Linked DNA regions of Homo sapiens: regions 1 and 2 are each linked to region 3. The links are contacts of gene promoters, found by promoter capture Hi-C in human tissues and cell types (Jung and others, 2019). All regions are on one chromosome and are shown on one strand. Each heading gives the region's core, a stretch centred on a gene start or on the middle of the fragment in contact. The rest is flanking DNA. Distances are from core to core; before and after follow the strand shown. Region 1 overlaps MYO1H (myosin IH). Region 2 overlaps ACACB (acetyl-CoA carboxylase beta). Region 3 holds the start of FOXN4 (forkhead box N4).

Region 1 (3,022 bases), core at 110-2,609, 43 kb after region 3:
TCTCAAGTATGTCTTTATTAGCAGCGTGAAAACGAACTAATAAAGCTCCCTGTCAGATAATGAGGAAGAGACTCATGGCTTATATCCATGTTCATTCAATATTTATAGAAGGTGGCTTCTACTGTTTCAGATGAGCACTTTTCCATGGTTCAAATATGTTTTCCTGACTTTATAACACATCAAAGAATCAAAGTGATATAGGTAATTTAAAAAAGATTTTTATTTTAAAATAATGATAGACTCACAAGAAGTAACAAAAATAATACAGAGAGGTCTCAAATATCCCTCAATCGTTACATCTTACATAATTAGAGCACAATATCTAAACCAGGACAAATAATGCTGGTACAATGTGCATATACAGTTACATGCCATTTTGTTACATCTGTAGATTTATGGAACAACCACCATCAGTAATTATTTTTACCCTGAGTGTCATAAGTGCTAATTAATTAAGCTCATTAAGCCTTGAATAGACTCATTCTCATGTTCCATTAGTAGGCAGGTTCACTAGAAGATGGGTGAAGTGGTGTACAAGTAATATGTTGGGTTCAGCACATAACTGGGTTAGATAAATTGCTTCCTGGATCTTATTTCAGAGACCTTTATTTTTAATTTTGCAACTGATCTTACTATCACTGATTTTCACATCAAAGCTTGAATTTAAACCTGGCCAGGATGTTTTTATATTATTACCGTAAAAACTCTTATGCCAGGTAAAAATATGAACACTTTCCTCCCATCAGCCTCTACTATCTTACCTTATCTTTTGACTAACAAAATAAACATTTTATATCAAAACCGTGGGGGGAAAAAGCCAAATCACACAGTTTCACCGCAGACACTTATGACAATATTTTAAGGTAACTTCCTAATTAACCATCTTTTTATTGGTATCTGTTTAAAAGCCATCTAAAAGATTAGACATTGTGTCCAGAACTGGTGCCTTGTTCACTGCTCCTGTAATTGCGTTATATTTCTAAAGAGATTGTAAATTCCTGGGGACCAGGTACCTTCTATAATGCCTTGCACACAGTAGATGCTCAGAAAATATTTGCTGATTGGTTGTTCAGCTGCTGGGTTCACTTGAAAAATAAGAAGAAAGCCCCCATGGCTAGGATGATTGCAATCACATTTATGTCCCTGTTAGAGTCACTCAAATTTCCAGTGTCATCATTTGCTTCTTAAGCCGAAAACACGGATTCTGGAGTAAATGTTTCTAATAGTAGTTTTTGCAGATGCCACAAAATTATTTCATTTAGTCTCTGCTTGGTAAAAGCACCATCTAATGTGGAAGATTCCACGGTGGTTGGAGATGCTGCTTCAAATTACTGCATGCTTTTACTCATCGCTGTCATATGTAGAAAAGGAAACTCTATTTTCCCTTCCACGCTATTTTCTAGACATTCAGGATTCCATAAGATATGCTTTGCTCTCTTTGCTTCAGAATGTAACTTTTACTAGTGAGTGGGACAAGAAGTTTCTCTCAATACAGTCCAGAAGATGAAGCCTTTTTTCTCTTTTGGGGAATGGATTCCTTGTCGTCACATAAGCCTGGCTCTGTTCATAATACCACTTTTATTTTTTTCCATAAAAATAGCTTTTTAATTACATAAATGATAAATGACCATTGTAGAAAGGATCTTTTAAACGGTATAGGAAATTGTAAGAAAATGACAATGATTTGAAATTCTGCCAGCCCTGGCTAACAACGGCATGCTGAGGCCCATGCATCTTGCATTTCTTCGTGTGCATGAGCATATTCAGCCCTCATCTCTCACCTCCCACTCTCCACCTCCTTCCCCCAGGGTCTTTATGTAATTGTCTCCATGGTCATAGAAACATATGGGGCTATTTGGGTAGCTACCCACATACATACATGAATGTATTTTCATCATTGTTTATTCTACGAAACTAGAATCCTTATTACATACACTTTTGCTACATCTTGCGTGTCTCGTTATAGACATCTCTTGAGCCTTTTAGCATAGATCTAACAGATTATTTTTCTCCCCGACATGTATGATGAAGTGTGTTAAACATACAGAAAAGAAGAAATTGTACAGAAAACACCCACTACCTAGATTCTACCATTAACCTATTACTTATGCTTATTTTTCATCTATCTATCCCTGTAACCACTAATGTATCTTATTTTGGGGGGATAGATTTCAAAGAAAGTTGCAGACATCAGCATACTTCCCCTAAATGCTTTGCACACCTGCCATTAGCTCGTGTTCAGTGTTTTTTCTTTCGAGGTAAATAGTATATACAATCTAAAGCACTAACCTTGGATATTTCATTTGGTAAGTTTTGATGAAGGTATATACCTGTGTGACCCAAATCCCTATTGAGACACAGCCCCACTATTACCTCAAAAGGTGTTCTCATGCCCCCACCCAATATAATACCAGTTTTAGTAGAGTCTTCAAGTGGTAACATTTGTTGATGAAAATAATTTTAGTCCTTAATATTAATACTATAATCAAGGGTACTTGCCCCAAATACTCATAAACAATATTATTGTGAGGCTGGGCACAGTGGCTCATGCCTGTAATCCCAGCATTTTGGGAGGCCGAAGTGGATGGATCACCTGAGGTCAGGAGTTTGAGACCAGCCTGGCCAACACGGTGAAACTCCATCACTACTAAAGACAAAAATTAGCCGGGTATGGTGGTACACACCTGTAATCCCAGCTACTCAGGAGGCTGACGCAGGAAAATCGCTTGAACCCGGGAGGCGGAGGTTGCAGTGAGCCGATATTGCGCCATTGCACTCCAGCCTGGGTGACAGAGCGAGACTCCGTCTCAAAAAAAAAAAAAAAAAAAAAAAAAATTGTGGTTATAGAACTTACCGGGAAATAAACTGTTGCTTGAATTTTGATTCCTAAACTTGTAATTCTAGATGTTTCAAATCTAAATGATGTGATATTTGAAATATATTTAGGTGTGTCGTTCTTAATTTATAAAGATGAATCACGTTATTTTTAAAATGATCTAAAACAATATATAAAATGTTATCC
Region 2 (3,036 bases), core at 469-2,968, 55 kb before region 3:
TCTTTATGTGGTTAATTTATAGTGAATATGCAGTTTTGTATTCTACTTTTTTCACTGTATTAAAACATTTTCCTTGTTGAAAAGTCTCTATACTTAATGTCTGCTCAAATCTCAGCCAAAGTCTCAAAGCCTGGTTCTTGAACCAACAGCATCAGCATCAGATGGGAACTTGTCAGAAATGCACATCCTCAAGCCCTGCTGCAGACCTGCTGAATCAGAAACACTAGCTAGGGTTTTGCTTTTGAGATGGTCAAGGTAGAAGTCAGCTGCATCACCAGTTCTCAAATTGGCCTGCATATTGGAATTATCTAGAAACTAAAAAACAAACAAAACACAAAAACTAATTCCTCGAAGATTCTGATATAATTGGTCTGGATGTAGCCTGAGCATCAGGATTTGTGAAATCTCCTGGGTGATTCTAATGTGTAGCCAGGATTGAGAAGCACTGAGATGATTTCCAAACAGGTGGTAGAGCCCTGCACCGTGCAGGACATTGCTAACCATGTTGTGTCAAAGCAGGTCCTGGGAAGAGAGGTCTACACATCCAACAACCAGCTGGGTGGCGTTCAGATCATGCATTACAATGGTGTCTCCCACATCACCGTGCCAGATGACTTTGAGGGGGTTTATACCATCCTGGAGTGGCTGTCCTATATGCCAAAGGTGCAGTACTCCCCCTGCAGCTTAGAACCTGGAAGACTCTTATTAAGCTCATTGGCTAATTCTGTCCCTGTCACCTCCTGGGTGGTGTGGGAGGCTGAGGAGCAGGAAGCACTGCACATGTGGCTGGGGTTGATTTTTCTTACTCCTTCTTCCTTCTCTGATGCCCAGCCCTGTACTAGGTGTCCTTTGCTCTTTTGGTGGCACTAATGCCATTGTAAGGATGCTATCTGTTAATCCTTTAGAAAGAGGTAGTATTGCCTCTTGACAAGAGGCAGCATTGGACAATACTGAGTCTTTAAGCTTTACAGTCAGGCTGGATTTGATTCCTGCCTTCCTCCTCGGTAGCTGTAAGACACTGGGAGAGTCCCTAAGTTTTTCTGAGCCTGTTTCCTCATCTGTGAAATGAGAATAATAATAGCACCTAACTCATGGTGTTATCATGATGATTAAGTGAAGTGATATTTAAAGCACAACGTTTGGTAGGTCCTCACCAAAGTAAGAAGGGGACAATCGTGGGCACAGTTCTTGGTTAACTGTAACATTCCTTACAAATGAGTGAGGTTGTCATTCTTCATTATAACCATTTCTGAGAGGTTGGGTTTACAGAGTTCAGGTCATTCCAGATCTTCTGCCAAGAACCCCAAGTCACAAATGTCAGTTTGTATTCCCAAGTGCCCCTTTTCCCCATCTGCATGCCATCTGTTACCATTCTCTGCAACCAATCTCTTTTTCTTTCTTTTAAGATGTTTTTCCTCCTATCTGACCATATATAGCAGTAGCAACCCTTTCCTGCGTTTCTGTAACTTCCCAGCATCAGTGACACCATCTGAACCGGGAAGCACACTCAGGAGTTCATAAACTAGATTTCAGAAGAATCCATGGGATGGCCAGTCCTTATCTGGCATTTTCCAATCAGAGCAGTGGCTTCAGGAGCCCTAGGGAGGGGATATTGCTGCATAACCAGGCATAATCATAGTCAGAGGAGCAAAGTGCTGATCAGAGGTATTATTGACAAGCACCACAGACTAAGTCAGAGACTTGGCTTTCTTTTTTAGGATAATCACAGCCCTGTCCCTATCATCACACCCACTGACCCCATTGACAGAGAAATTGAATTCCTCCCATCCAGAGCTCCCTACGACCCCCGGTGGATGCTTGCAGGAAGGCCTCACCCAAGTAAGTTCTAAAGTATTTTGCCTAGGACCTGGTCTCGGGTTTCTTTCTAGGGCTTGAGACAAAGGAGCACTTTGTCTCAAGCGCTTGAGACAAAGGCTTGATATTCGTTCTCATATCCCAGAGAGGTATACCTGAAATCAAATGCAGGGAAAGTAGAGAAATGGAGATTTTACTCTAGGCTTTTCCTGAGCCATTGACCAAGAAGGGGTGGAAACAGCCTCCAGTTTCTGGAGCTAATAGATGGAGGTGGGGTGCAATGGTGGTCCTGGTCTCCCTCCCCTGATGCTCCATGCTCCGTGGTCTCTAACTGCCCCACTGTCTCATCAGTAGAAAATTCAGTGCTGAAACATCAGAGTTTCAAAGAGAAGACTGCATCTTTCTCTTTCTTTCTCTCTTACAAAGGAACTCTGTGAGTTTACACAGGATAGGCAATCTGGTCTCCTCTTCTTTTTTTTTTTTTGAGACAGTGTTGCTCTGTCGCCCAGGCTGGAGTGCAGTGGCGCGATCTTGGCTTACTGCAATCTCTACCTCCTGGGTTCAAGTGATTCTCCTGACTCAGTCTACCGAGTAGCTGGGATTACAGGTGCCTGCCACCACACCCAGCTAATTTTTGTATTTTTAGTAGAGGCGGAGTTTCACCATGTTGGCCAGGCTGGTCTTGAACACATGACCTCAAGTGATCTGCCTGCCTCAGCCTCCCAAAGTGCTGGAATTACAGACATGAGCCACCATGCCTGGCCAATTTTACCTCTTCTATACCTACACACACACACACACACACACGCACGTGGACACGTGAACACACATGCACATGCACACACATTTTTGCACACACACATTCTCTCTCTGAAAGGGATGAGTTTCTCTCTTGGAGGTATATTATTTCAGTCTGAGCAACCAGAACACAACAGGAAAGTTGAGCTGCTCCCGTCACTATATCCCAAATCTAGAATTTCACATGCTGCTACCTTTAGACTTGGCTGCTCCTTGGCTGTGCAATGCAGGAGAGGTGACCCTCGGGAGTGTGCTAGACTCCAGCCAGTGCAAGGAGTCCTGTGGCTTCCTTCTCTTGCTTTTCATTTCTCTTGGGCTTTCTGGCCTGTAAACACTGAGGGGGCTGCTTATCTCAATTAAAAAATGTTCGGCTTCTCACTGTCAGGCCAGTCCTCGGCAGATGCTGAAGCTGTGCTGTTGCAT
Region 3 (2,881 bases), core at 370-2,869:
TCAGTTTCCATCTAATTTACTCTTCAAACACATGAGGCCTAGAAGAAACCTTAAGATCATCTACTTCAACAAGATCAATTAAATGATGAGGAAGTGAGGCCCAGGGCAAAGGACTTGCTGAATGTCACACAGCCTGGCTGAGAACTTAGCATATCTGACTACTTTCTTAACATCTGTGGAGGATAGAACCCAATTCCTCCCAGAAGGTTTTTTTTTGGCAGGGGGTGGGGGAGCATTTCCCACAGCCCCCATTAAGGCCACTGGAGGGGAAGCAGTAGCTGCTATTGTCATCTTAACATTCACCAGGATGCCCAAACAGTATCAAATGCAGAAACGGACCTCTTTTGGAGGGGACAAGAGACAGCAGGCATTTCGTGGTCCCACTGGGCCAGGTTGTGGCCCAGACACCCTTAGCAAGACCAACATTGAAATCAAGACTTTCCAGCTCTCCCGCAAAAATCACAGAATTGAACATAACAATAGTTCTTGGGCAGTTTCAGAAACCATAAACAGCATACAAACACTTTGAGCAATTAAAAAATATATAGTTTGTTATTGTTGGAGCCCTCACCTGTATTCCTGTGGAGAGGGGTGGTGATTTTGCCCTGAGTTTCGAATAATTCCTGACATTATGGATGAGGTGTCACTTTCTATCATCTCCTTGGGAAAAGACAAGCAGAAAACAAAGCTCCCATCAGCGACGATATGGACAGGGCAGAAACCCACAGTTTTCCCGCAATTCAGAAAGATGGAGCACAATCAACTCACAGAACACTTTTTTTTTCTTTAAAGAAAAAAGTTCTAGAGGATTCCTGGGCATCTCAGGTCACTTTCCCAGGGCAATTCTACAGCGTTTTAGAAACAAATGAAGAGAATGAAATGAAATTCCCGGTTCTTTCGAATTAATGGGGGAAGAGCAAGGGAAGCTCTAGAATCCAAATGTCAAACCTGGAAAATGTGGACTCACAAAATAGGAATCAGAAAAACGATTTCCTTCCAAGCCTTATATTTTCAACCTCAGTTTGGTTATGATCACTTTCAAAATAAGGGGCAGCTGGATGTGACATGTGTATTTCTCTGGGGGAACAAATTCCCACTTGCAAAGGGAATAATCCCCGCAAGCTCCTGCCCTGAAATGCCTTCAGAAATGCCACAAGCCCTTACTGGAAAACCAATCCAACCACCCACGTCCCCGCAACACACAAACACTGCCTTAAAAAAATAATAAAAATATTTGAGTTCCCTAAGTTTCTCAAACTCCAAGCCTGAACCAACATAAAAGCCCACCAAAGCCTCAGTTCCGCCCCCAAAGCCATCGAAGGATTCCCAGGAAGGAGGAAAAGGGAGCAGAGGGAGGCGGCCCCGCAGCCCCTGCGCCCGGGTCTCTACCCTGGAAATGCAATGCCCGGCATTGCCCGGGAGGAGGGAGCAAAGCCGACCCTGCAAGGCGGTACCTGGAGCCGATCCTCGCGGGGCCGCCGCTGCCGGCGCTCCGGGGGTGGGCAGGGGTTCCGGAGGGGGGCTCCCTCGCGCTCGCCCCTCGCGTTCCGCAATTTGGCCGCCGTCGCAGCTCGAACCGTTTTTAAATTTCCCTCTCTGGAGCTGTCCAGCTCAGAGCATGCGCAGTAGCCGTGCGGGGGGCTTTTCCCCAAGGGTCAGTTACAGGGCAGGGTCAAGGGGATTGCAGCGGGCGTTTCCCAGCAGCCGCGAGCCTTGCACGCCCCGGGGTTCTGGGGGGGGGGTGTGTGTGAGGGGGGCGGGGCGGAGGAGTGCAGGGGTAGGGACCCCTCTTCAAACTTTGCCAACAGTGACAACAACTGCATGCCCGAGAGCATGCGTTGAGGAGCAGTGGGAGGGTGATTTCGGCCAAGGGAATTAAGTTGCAAAAGGAGGCTGGGTGCATTAAAACTTGCAATCCCGCCTGGGGCAAAGGACGTGGGCGGGCGGAGAGATCTGTTGCAACCCCCTCTCTCCCCCAAAGTGGAGGACGGGCCGGGAGGCAGAGACGGGGCCCCAGGTGGACGCGGATTCGGTCCACCTGTCCCTTTAAGAAAGTTGCGCCCGCGCGGGCTGGCGCGCAGCGGGAGGGGGCTGCGGAGCGGGGCGCGGGGCGCCTCCACCTGCTGGGGCCGCGAGGGGGGGCCCGGGCCCAGCGCGGCGGCGAGGCGAGGAGGGCTCCCCGGGACTGCGCGCTGCGCCCCCCTGTCCCGCGAGGAGGGTGAGCCCGCCCGGAGCGAGTGCGGCGGGGCTCGGCGGCCCCGGCAGCCGCGACGACGGCGACGGCGGTGGCGGTGGCGGTGGCGGCGGCGGCGGAGGCGGAGGCTGCGGCGTTCGGGGTACGGCGCCGCGAGCCCAGCGCAGCCGTTGGGGGCAGTGGCCCGCGTGTGCAACCGCGCTCCCTCCCTTCCCCGCCGCCCGGCCCGCGCCGCCGCTGCCCCGCCCCGCCTGGAGCCAGCCGCGGGAAAGGTGGCGCGGACCGCGGACGGCGGCGGGGCCCAGAGCGGGCAGAGGTCTCCACAGGCCCCTTAGGAGGCTTGGATGAGTTTGGTCCCCTGGAAAGTTTGCGTTTCTGGCGCCCTAACTCTCAAGCCTCCGTTGCAGTAATTGCCACGGCAGCAACGATATTAGGCACGGCTACCCCCATTCTTTCGTTACTTATTGACGCCTGCTTCTGGGTTCTTCTTCGCATCAGCCCTTGATGACATAGCATGGTCCTCCTTTTGCATGGGGGGAACCCAAAGCCCCGAGCGGCAGTGAGTGGGTCGGCGGCGCACGGGCAGAGCGCGGGCTCCCGCACCTCCCCAGCTCGCGTACTGCACGTGGACCTCTGCGCCGCCCCCACCGAGTGAGGCTCAGGCACCCGAAGCGTCTGGAGTTGTTT

Evidence for each region. The method cuts DNA at HindIII sites, captures the fragments that hold promoters and counts their contacts. A contact is called where the count stands out against the background at its distance.
Region 1: a contact is called between a fragment that was not itself captured here and the fragment with the promoter of FOXN4 in region 3, in 2 of the 25 tissues and cell types used here (bladder and liver).
Region 2: a contact is called between a fragment that was not itself captured here and the fragment with the promoter of FOXN4 in region 3, in 1 of the 25 tissues and cell types used here (hippocampus).

The regions. Positions count from the first base shown.
Region 1 is chr12:109,350,585-109,353,606 of GRCh38, forward strand. The region is part of intron 1 of MYO1H (myosin IH); the gene reads left to right. Among named protein-coding and RNA genes, the nearest start is that of MYO1H, 4.2 kb to the left of the region's middle. The HindIII fragment of the contact is 3,824 bases long and covers 1-3,022 here.
Region 2 is chr12:109,252,496-109,255,531 of GRCh38, forward strand. ACACB (acetyl-CoA carboxylase beta) reads left to right here. Exons shown (of 53, transcript NM_001093.4): 43 at 520-663; 44 at 1,719-1,839. Among named protein-coding and RNA genes, the nearest start is that of FOXN4, 55 kb to the right of the region's middle. The HindIII fragment of the contact is 6,394 bases long and covers 1-3,036 here.
Region 3 is chr12:109,307,665-109,310,545 of GRCh38, forward strand. It overlaps FOXN4 (forkhead box N4), which reads right to left and starts at 1,620. Exons shown (of 10, transcript NM_213596.3): 1 at 1,455-1,620; 2 at 572-660. The coding sequence starts at 657. It also overlaps a transcript of MYO1H not described here. The HindIII fragment of the contact is 10,264 bases long and covers 1-2,881 here.